Linked DNA regions of Homo sapiens: all the other regions are linked to region 3. The links are contacts of gene promoters, found by promoter capture Hi-C in human tissues and cell types (Jung and others, 2019). All regions are on one chromosome and are shown on one strand. The core of a region is centred on a gene start or on the middle of the fragment in contact, and the rest is flanking DNA. Distances in the headings are between cores, read along the strand shown. Region 1 overlaps TTC28-AS1 (TTC28 antisense RNA 1). Region 2 overlaps PITPNB (phosphatidylinositol transfer protein beta). Region 3 holds the start of RASL10A (RAS like family 10 member A).

The links. Contacts are between HindIII fragments. The study calls those that stand out against the background at their distance.
Region 1: a contact is called between a fragment that was not itself captured here and the fragment with the promoter of RASL10A in region 3, in 1 of the 25 tissues and cell types used here (dorsolateral prefrontal cortex).
Region 2: a fragment that was not itself captured here is called in contact with the fragment with the promoter of RASL10A in region 3 in 2 of the 25 tissues and cell types used here (dorsolateral prefrontal cortex and spleen).

What each region holds. Positions count from the first base shown.
Region 1 is chr22:27,923,222-27,926,236 of GRCh38, forward strand. All of the region lies in intron 1 of TTC28-AS1 (TTC28 antisense RNA 1), which reads left to right. Among named protein-coding and RNA genes, the nearest start is that of MIR3199-1, 4.1 kb to the left of the region's middle. The HindIII fragment of the contact is 4,991 bases long and covers 1-3,015 here.
Region 2 is chr22:27,870,003-27,873,131 of GRCh38, forward strand. The region is part of intron 8 of PITPNB (phosphatidylinositol transfer protein beta); the gene reads right to left. Among named protein-coding and RNA genes, the nearest start is that of PITPNB, 48 kb to the right of the region's middle. The HindIII fragment of the contact is 6,796 bases long and covers 1-3,129 here.
Region 3 is chr22:29,314,415-29,317,685 of GRCh38, forward strand. RASL10A (RAS like family 10 member A) reads right to left here and starts at 1,283. Exons shown (of 3, transcript NM_006477.5): 1 at 614-1,283. The coding sequence starts at 832. RefSeq lists enhancers at 1-474, 475-1,279. The HindIII fragment of the contact is 15,140 bases long and covers 1-3,271 here.

The DNA of each region.
Region 1 (3,015 bases), core at 274-2,773, 1.4 Mb before region 3:
GTTTCACCATGTTGGTCAGGCTGATCTTGAACGCCCGACCTCAGGTAATCCAGCCGCCTTGGCCTCCCGAAGTGCTGGGGTTACAGGTGTGAGCCACCGCTCCCGGCTCATGTGTACATTTATCTAAGGGAGAGGTTTGTAGCTTTCATTTGCCTTGCTTTCTCTGCGTTTTGCCATCCCATTTCTTTTTATCTTCTGCACATTCCAGAATGATCTTGATTGAGGATCTTTCTATGAAAACTAGAAGTATTCCCAAGAATGCTTTAATTTTGTTAAATATCAGGGCGTAGGTTATAATATTGTATCACTCTGGGACGGACAGGGTTAGGCTTTGGAGTAGAAAGACCCTAGCCTCAATCCTGCACTTACTCTGCCACTTACTGTTCTGAACCTTGAGAAAATGACTTAATCTCTCAGAGATTCAGTTTACACTGAAACTCAGTTTTACACATCTGAAAAAAGAGGACTATTAATATCTGCAACAGATTTAAGGACTAACAAATATGAAGTATATAAAGCACCTATGTTATCTACTTTACTGGATACATAAGTGTTCAGTGAATGGGAACCATTTAAAAGCTTACAAAAAGCAGGAACAGTAATTGAAGATATCAGTCTATAGAGTAACCACTATGTTTATTCATTATTTGTTACTCTAATACTTGCATAAGAACGTATATGTGCATTCATGCGTGTATACATATTGGCCATCATTACCTTTTGTCTGTTGTGTATAATACAGATTCTTGTTCTTCTGTGTCATCACCAACATGTAATATTGTCAGAATTTTTATTTTTTGTCAGTTTATTGGTTTTAAAACTCTTATCTTGTGTTCACTTTGCATTCCTTGCAGGTTGAGGATGTTTTGTTTTCTGGTCTTAGTCTCATTCTTCCTTCTTTTTCCTGTTGGTCTTGTTCTTTTCTTTTTGATTTGTAGGGTATATTAGGATGGTGCAAAAGTAATTGAGGTTTTTGCATCGTTGAAATTTGTCATTTGATACTGGAATACCCTCTTAAACCTTCTTAAATGTGGTTATGTTATACATCATTTTAATGGGCATTTCTCACTTTGTTTTTTTTTTTTTTGCTAATGACTTATTACTTGCTGTTTATATTTATTTTAGACTATGGAAATGATATTAGACAAAAAGCAACTTCAAGTGGTTTTCTTATTTGAGTTCAAAATGGGTCATAACGCAGCAGAGATAACTTGAAACATGAACAGCGCATTTGGCCCAGGAACTACTAACGAACATACAGGGCAGCTGTGATTCAAGAAGTTTTGCAAAGCAGACTAGAGCCTTGAATATGAGGAACACAGTGGCCAGCCATTGGATGCTTCACTTCTTGAAGCATCTTGACAGCTTTTTGCAGGTGAAATGCTTCCACACCAGCAGGATGCAGAAAAATGCTTTCCAAGAGTTTGTTGAATCCAGAAGCATGGATGTTTATGCTGCAGGAATAAACAAATTTATTTCTCGTTGGCAAAAAAGTGTTGATTGTAATGGTTCCTATTTTGATTAATAAAGATGTGTTTGAGCCTAGTTATAATGATTTAAAATTAATGGTCCAAAAATGCAATTACTTTTGCACCACCACCAACACACACACACACCTACACATTCTGGATTTGAATTCCATGTTGATTATATGCACTTGGAATATTTCTTTTCCATCTGTGGATTGTTCTGTCACTTATTTTCTTTAATAAATGGGTTTCTGAACCTCTGTTGTATTGACATTTTGGGTCAGATTATTCTTTGCTGTGTAGGCTGTTCTATGCCTTGTAGGGATGTTCAGCAACATCCCTGGCCTCTATTGGCCAGGTGCCGGTAGTACCCCTCCAGTCATGACAGTCAGCAGTGTTTCCAGACATTGCCTAGTTTCTCCTGGGGGGCACAATTGCCCTAAGTTGAGAACCACTGGTTATAGTGACTTTGTTGTGTAGTTATCCTGCTAACATTTTTTTATTATATGCCAGACAAGCCTTAAGTGTTTCATATGAATTAATCCTAACTCATTTACGCATCACAACAACATATGATGTAGATATTATTGTCCCTATTTTAAAGAGGAGAAATCTTATGTCCTCTAATATGCAGAAAATGTTAACTTTACCAAGCTATAACTTACATATAAAATGCACCTATTTGAAGTGTACAGCTGTAGGGTTTTGTTAAAGGTATACTCAGACTTCTGTAGAGTTTCATATCATTTATCATATAGTCCTTTTTGTATCTTCTAGCATAATGGTTCTGAGATTCCTGAATGTGTGTCATTCAGACCTTTTCATTGCTCAGTGGTATTCCTTTGTGTGGATATACCAGAAATTTTTTATCCGTTTACCTAGTGATGGATTTTTCAGTGCTATACAGTTTTTGGTCATGATAAAGTTGCCATGACTAGATGTATAGAAGTCTTCCTGTGGATATATGTTTTCATTTCTGTTGGATTATAAGGTAAGTGTATGTTTGGGAGAAGTGGCCAACAATTTACAAAGTGGTGGTACCATTTTGCATTCCCAGCAGCAATGCATGAGAGTCCAGTTACTCCACATCCTCATCAACACATTTTAGCCACTCTAGTGGAAATGTGGTATCTCATTGTAGTTAAATTTGCAGTTCTCTGAAAACTAATGATGTTGAGCACTTTTTCATGTACTTATTGGTCATTTGTACATGTTTTGTCAAGTAACTATTCAACTCTTGCCCATTTTCAAATTGTTCTTTTTCTGTTTTTGAGTTGGAAGAGTTATTTGAATATCCTACATATAAGTCCTTTCTCAGATGTTTGTGTTATGAGTATTTCCTCCCAGTCAGCTGCTTGCCTTTTCATCTTGGTGGTATATTTCAAACAGCAGAAATTTTAAGTTCTGATGAAGTCTAGTTTCTCATTTTGTTTTATGGTTCATGCTTTCTGTGTACTTCCTGAGAAATCTTTGCCTAAGCCAGAGGCACAAAGATTCTTATTTTACTATGTTTTCTTCTGCAAGTTTTAAAGTTTTGGCTCTTACA
Region 2 (3,129 bases), core at 351-2,850, 1.4 Mb before region 3:
GCATCACACAATTGCCAATGATGCAACAGGGCATAAAAGGTACAGAACGGTGATCTAGGAGTCACTGGATTAAGAGTTAAAATCTGCTACATCTCCATACCTTACACACTGCTGTAACTACCACCGAATCAGGTGTTCCAGAAATGGCAGACATTCTGCTGTTTCTCCTACAACTATTACATGTGTTTCTCTGCCCAAGTTTCTCAACTATATAAAATAAAGCAGCTGAACTTACACCACAGGAAGGTTGTAAAGATTAAATGTAACCTTGTATAGTACCTGGTACCAAGGAAAAGTTTCTTTACCCCTAGTCAGTCTGGTGCAGACAGGAAGTAAATACTGCAATAATTCAGAGGGAAAATACCACCATCAGACAAGTAAGGAAAAGTTTCAAAGAAATCATAGGATTTGCATTTAGCTTTGAATAGACTTTGGAATCTGTACTGGTAAGGCAGGTTTCTGCTGAAGGGTATGTGTGGGATGGTTCACAGAGGCCTTTTGAGAGAGAGACTGTGGAACTACCAGGCAGCTCTTCTATAAGAACATTCTTCAACACTACCCTGGTTAAGTGGGTCCACAATAAGATTTCTTCTTCCTTTCAGCCATAATTATCATGTTTGTTCCCTATTTCTTCCTTGCATTTCAGAAGTATAAAAATTTCCAACTATTATCGTTCCCCAGTGCTACCCTCAGTGCCTCCACCAGGACAGTAATTGGCAAAGAGGGCCTGCTGAACATGTTTACAGAAGACACTGGTAAGATCAAGTCCAAAGGTTCCTATTTTCCTGTATGCCATATTATCAGCTATCTTCTTACGCTTTATTTCCCTCCACAGCAGCAAGTGGATGGCTTAATTATTATCAGTTATTCTTGACTGCACTAGTTATTTCTGAGATCACAGTAATTCACAGAAATTCAGTCAGGCAGTAGCTGAATTTATAAGAGTAGCTGGATACACCATCATCTGGATAAAATGAACAATCAACAGGCAAATGGGCAGAAACAACCAGCACCCTATCAGCCTAATAAGTTACTGTTTAACACAGGGGGGAAAATGGAAAAAAACTGCAGTTCTGCAATCTGCAGAAATACAAAATTCACATTATTTCTAAGAACTAAACCTATTCTAGAATTTCAATCATTAGTCAATAATAAAAGACAAAGCAATATCAGTTACAAATCAGGCCAGACATGGTATATATTCCAAGTTCCTAAAAAGTTAGAAATCAGTACAAGTCATAGTATCAAACTACTTTTGCTGCCTGTTATAAAATCAGGAGTTCCTATAGGAAGGATCTGAGCCCAAACATAAAGCCCACCACATAATGTAGCATTGTCTTTTAATGTTTATACTTGAAAAGCTAATAATTTCAAGAAAATACAATATTTAATTCACCTCTGGGTCTCAACCTCATGCCCCTTTACTCCCTGTAAAAGTATTGTCAGCTAGAGCTACTACTCACTGGAACAAGATGTACTTTTTTAGAAGTTACAGCACCAGTGGAGGTAGCCACCATCTGGGCTGCTCTCTGGCATGGTGTCCTTGTTTAGAAGACCAGTGTGAAATCTCAAAGGGCTTCTCCTCCAACTAAGATTGAGTTCTAAAGTCTGAAGCTAGAAATCTGGAAAAGGCTGGGGACACTAAATCCATTAAAGCAAATTTACATCAAGCAGGCTGAATTTGTTAATTTATAAGTGGTATATATCACTTTCTGGGTAATATAGATTGGGAATTTGTCCCTGCTCAAATCTCATGCTGAAATGTAATCCCCAATGTTGAAATGCAATCCCTAATGTTAGAGGTAAAGCCTCTAACAGGTGTTTGCATCATGACTGCAGATCCTTCATGAATAGCTTGGGCCATCCCCTTGGTGATAAGTGAGCTCTCACTCTGAGTTCACACGAGATCTGGCTGTATAAAAGTGCATGGCACACTTCCCCTGCCCCACTTCCACCATGTGAGACGCCTGCTTCTCCTTTGCCTACCATGACTGTAAGCTTTCTGAAGCCTCCCCAAAAGCAGATACCAGCACTATGCTTCCTATACAGTGTGCAGAACCGTGAGCCAATTAAGCCTGGTTTTTTTTTTTTTTTTTTTTTTTTTTTTTTGGGACGGAGTCTCACTCTGTCGCCCAGGTTGGAGTGCAATGGTGCAATCTTAGCTCACTGCAACCTCTACCTCCCGGGTTCAAGTGATTCTCCTGCCTCAGCCTCCTGAGTAGCTGGGATTACACGCAAGCACCATCGTGCCCAGCTAATTTTTGGATTTTTAGTAGAGATGGGGTTTCAACATGTTGCCCAGGCTGGTATTGAACTCCTGACCTCAAGTGATCCACCCACCTCAGCCTCCCAAAGTACTGGGATTACAGGCGTGAGCCACTGCACCTGGCCCAAGCCTCTTTATATATAATACCCATTCTCAGGTTCTTTGTAATAATGCAAGATTGGCCTAACATGCTAAGTATTAAAACTGGGAGAATTCTGAACTAAACTCTACCCAGAGAACAAATGTGAAAATAATATAGTTATGAATCATTTCTTATAAACCAAAGTCAAATTCATTTTTCCTTTTAGTTGATGCACAAGACAGTCCACAAAACAGTCTAACACCCAGGGAGAACCACTCAATGAGTTCTCTGTGGGGCTGTAACAGTAATCCTCTTATCTGCATGCAACTAGTACCTAGACATCACTTATCGATGACCTGTAACTGGCTTCAGCACAGACAGACTGGTTACCAAGTAAGACCCTGGGAGTGGAAAATCTGCTCTGGGCATGTTTAAGTTTTTATGCTCTTCTCTTGTCAAATTAGCTGTAGTAACTTGCCAATAACACATTAAGACTTCTTTAAGGATCTGTCATTTAGTTTAGTAGATGTCTTTAAAATGCATTATATTTCTATAGCAATTTAAATTATTACCTTGACATTACCTTACTTCCATGAATAAAGTAAGGGTGTGCACTTTATTTAAAAACAACTACTGGCTGGGCGCAGTGGCTCATGCCTGTAATCCCAACACTTTGGGAGGCCAGGGCGGGTGGATCACCTGAGGTCGGGAGTTCGAGACCAGCCTGACCAACATGGAGAAACCCCGTCTCCACTAAAAATACAAAATTAGCCAGGCATGG
Region 3 (3,271 bases), core at 33-2,532:
CTGGTATGTTTTTGCCACTTCCTTTACTCAGAACTTCACTCGGTCTTCCAGGTTCAGCTCAAATGCCACTCCCTCCAGGAAGCCCTGCTTAATCCTGCCTGCTCTTTCCTCTTCACTGCTCTAGGGTCGGAGGTCTGTCCTTTACTTTGCACAAATTACTAAACGAGTCTTCGCTCCAGGGGACAAAAATGATAGGGCAGAGAATGAACCCCTCCACCAGCCCCCGTAGAAAGTACACCCCTGCTCCTGACCCCAGTCTCTCCCATTGTAGCTCTGCTCAAGGCCCCAAACACAAAACGCCACACTCTCGGGAAGGCACCGTTATGCACCACCAAGAGCTGCTCCACACCCCCAGCCGAGGCAGGCAAAGGTGGAGGCGCTCACAGGAGCAAGGGAACGCCCCTGGGCAAAATCGCCCGGCCTCCAGCCTGGGCTTGGGCGTCTCCAGGTCGGCGGGAAGGGCTGAAACGCAAGTATCCCAGGACGCACACACATCCCTCCATCCCGGAGCACAGCCAGGCGCCCGAGGCCTCCACGCGGACACGCACGTGTGCACCGAGCACGCACACCCCTCACACTGTCACACGCCCCTGCCCGCTCCTCGAGCCGCTACCTCCGGACCCCCGGGGCTCGAGCCGGGGCCAGCGACGTCGCCGTCGCGGATGCTCAAGTCGTAGACGGCGCCGTCGAGCAGCACCGCGGGTCGGTAGAGGCGCGGCCCGTCCGTGGGCCGGTGGCGCTCGGGGTAGTCACCGAACAGGAACTGGCGGATGATGGCCGTCTTGCCCACGCCCGGGGCGCCTAGAACGGCCACCCGCAGGCTACCCCCCATGGCCGGCCGGCGCTGTCGCTCCCCGCGCTGGAAAGCCTCATGGGCCGGCGCCGCACCGTGCGCCCCCAGGCCGTGCGCCCCGCGCGCCCTGCCCGGTGCGCCACGGCCCCGTCGCGCTTCTCGTCGCCCCTCGGAGCACCGAGACCGGAGAGGGCAGGCCCGAGGCAGGAGCTGGCGGCGGGAGGGCAGACAGACAGCCGAGTGGGCAGACAGGTGGCGGGCGCGCGAGCGGCTCGGGCGGGTGCCGAAGCTCGAGAGAGAGCAGAGCCGGAGCGGCGCTCAGACACCGCCTCCGCCCCGCAGCGCCAACCCAGGCGCCGGCGGACGCGCGAGGCGCCGAAGTCCGCCCCTCTCGCGGCGCGGGTCCCGCAGCGGTGCGGGGCGCGGGGGGCAGCGCTGCCTCCCGGAGCCTCTGTGCCTCTATCCTTCTCTCGCTTCCGCGCCTGGAGTCGCCGCCCCAGCCGCCGGCGCGAGCGAGCGGGGCCTCCCGGAGGCGGCGATGAGGTAACCGCCCGCCCCTCCCACCTTCCCCCACCGCCCAGGACGCCCCTCCCAGGAAGGGTCGCAGGAAGGTGACTGGGGGACAGAGATCCCGGAGAGGGCCTACCCCTTCCTTACCTCCTCCGCGTGTCCCGCTCCTCTCACCCGCTCCAAAATAGAAGCCCCTTCCCACCCACTGCCGCGGCCGCTCTTCCAAACACTGCTCGCCCCCACGCTGGCTCCCGACAAGCCCCGGCCCCCGGAGTCAGGCCGCCCGGGGTCCGAATTGGGGGGGGCGGCTGTGTGACCTTGGGCGAATCGCCGCACTGCGCTGGGTCTGCGCTCCGCATCCATCACAGGCAGACTCCTCAAGAGGCTCCAACCTTTTCTTGAGAGCCTACTATGTGCCAGGCCCATTACCTACGTGATTCTCGAACCTACAGCCTCAGCCTGGCATCGCTGGTTGAGAGAAGAGGAAACAGGCCCGAGAGGGGAATCTGCAAGGTTAGAAGGGCAGTGGGGGGGCCCTTGAAGTCTCCTTTGAAGTCCCTCCTACCTTCCTCCTGCCCACGGGGGTAAATGGCCCACACTAGACAATATTCAAACAGCCGTCCTCGAGGGGAAGTGGGGACAGAGGGTGCCGAGACCACAGCAGCTTAGCCCCAGATCCCTGTCCCAGCAAGGCTGGAGGTGACTAAATAAAGATCCAGAAATTGGCCCACTCCACCTCCATCACTACTAAGGTCACCTTTCCTGCGTGAGTTGCAACCCGTAGCGCCCCTCAAAGGGATGCAACCTCCAAAACAGGCGCCCAGAGCCCAAGTTCCCCCTCCCTCGAGCTAGTGGAGAAGCTCCTGCCCCATCACAGCTTGGAAAGCCTGGGTTAGCCCAGCCCCCCCATCCTCCGCCTCTGCTCTCCTCCCCGCTGTGTGGGGGCTCCCACGTCTCTGACCTGCACATGGCAATGCTCAAGAAATGGCGGCAATGCTCAAGAAATGGCCGCAATGCACAGATCTCTGCACTGACTAAGGAGTTCATTTATTTATCCCCTCAACAAATATTCCAAATCTTATTGCTTGTCAGGAGGCTGAGATAGATTTAAAAAACAGAAAACAGGAAAAAAAAAAAAAGTTCTGCTTTGGGAGAGAAGGTTCTAGAACACATGGGATCTAGGGACTGTCAAAGCACAGACAATGTGCCCACACCAGCCCAGGGGAAGTAGAGGAGCTAAATCCTGAAGGGGGAGGAGGCACATCCTCCAGGGAGCCTGTATAATGACAACCAGAAAGTGTCTCCAGAACAATGGCTGTGCTTTCATCCTCCCATGCTAGATCGGGGGCTGGGGTCCGCTTTCACTCCTCTCCTCAGCCACTAGGAAGCTCAGAACCACCTCTGTCTAGTGTTCCAGGTCTTCTAGCTCAGTGAGTGGGGACTGCTGGCTTCATCTTTCTTTCCTACCATGATTTTTCCCTTCACTTGATGTCCTCTTTCACGTTGTAACTTTTCAGACTTCTGGGTTTTGTTGTTTGAGACAAGGTCTTGCTCTGTCACCCAAGCTGGAGTGCAGTGGTGTGATCTTAGCTCACTGCATCCTCAACCTCCTGGGTTCAAGTGATCCTCCTTGCCTCAGTCTCTCAAATAGCTGGGACTGCAGGTGTGTACTACGACATCCAGCTGATTTATTTTTATTTTTTGTAGAGGTGGAATCTCACTATGTTGCCCAGGCTGGTCTTGAACTCCTGGCTTAAGCAATCCTCCCTCCTCAGCCTCCAAAAGTGCGAGGATTACAGGCGTGAGCCACCACATCTGGCCAAACTTCTGGGTTTTTGACTTTTCAGGCTTCTGGGTTTTGTGAGCTGCTTCAATTCCTTCGGGGAACAAGGCAAGGAGTAAATAACAAGGCACTCAGCAACACAACAACAAAACCCAGAAGTCTGAAAAGCTGACACCAGGACGGTC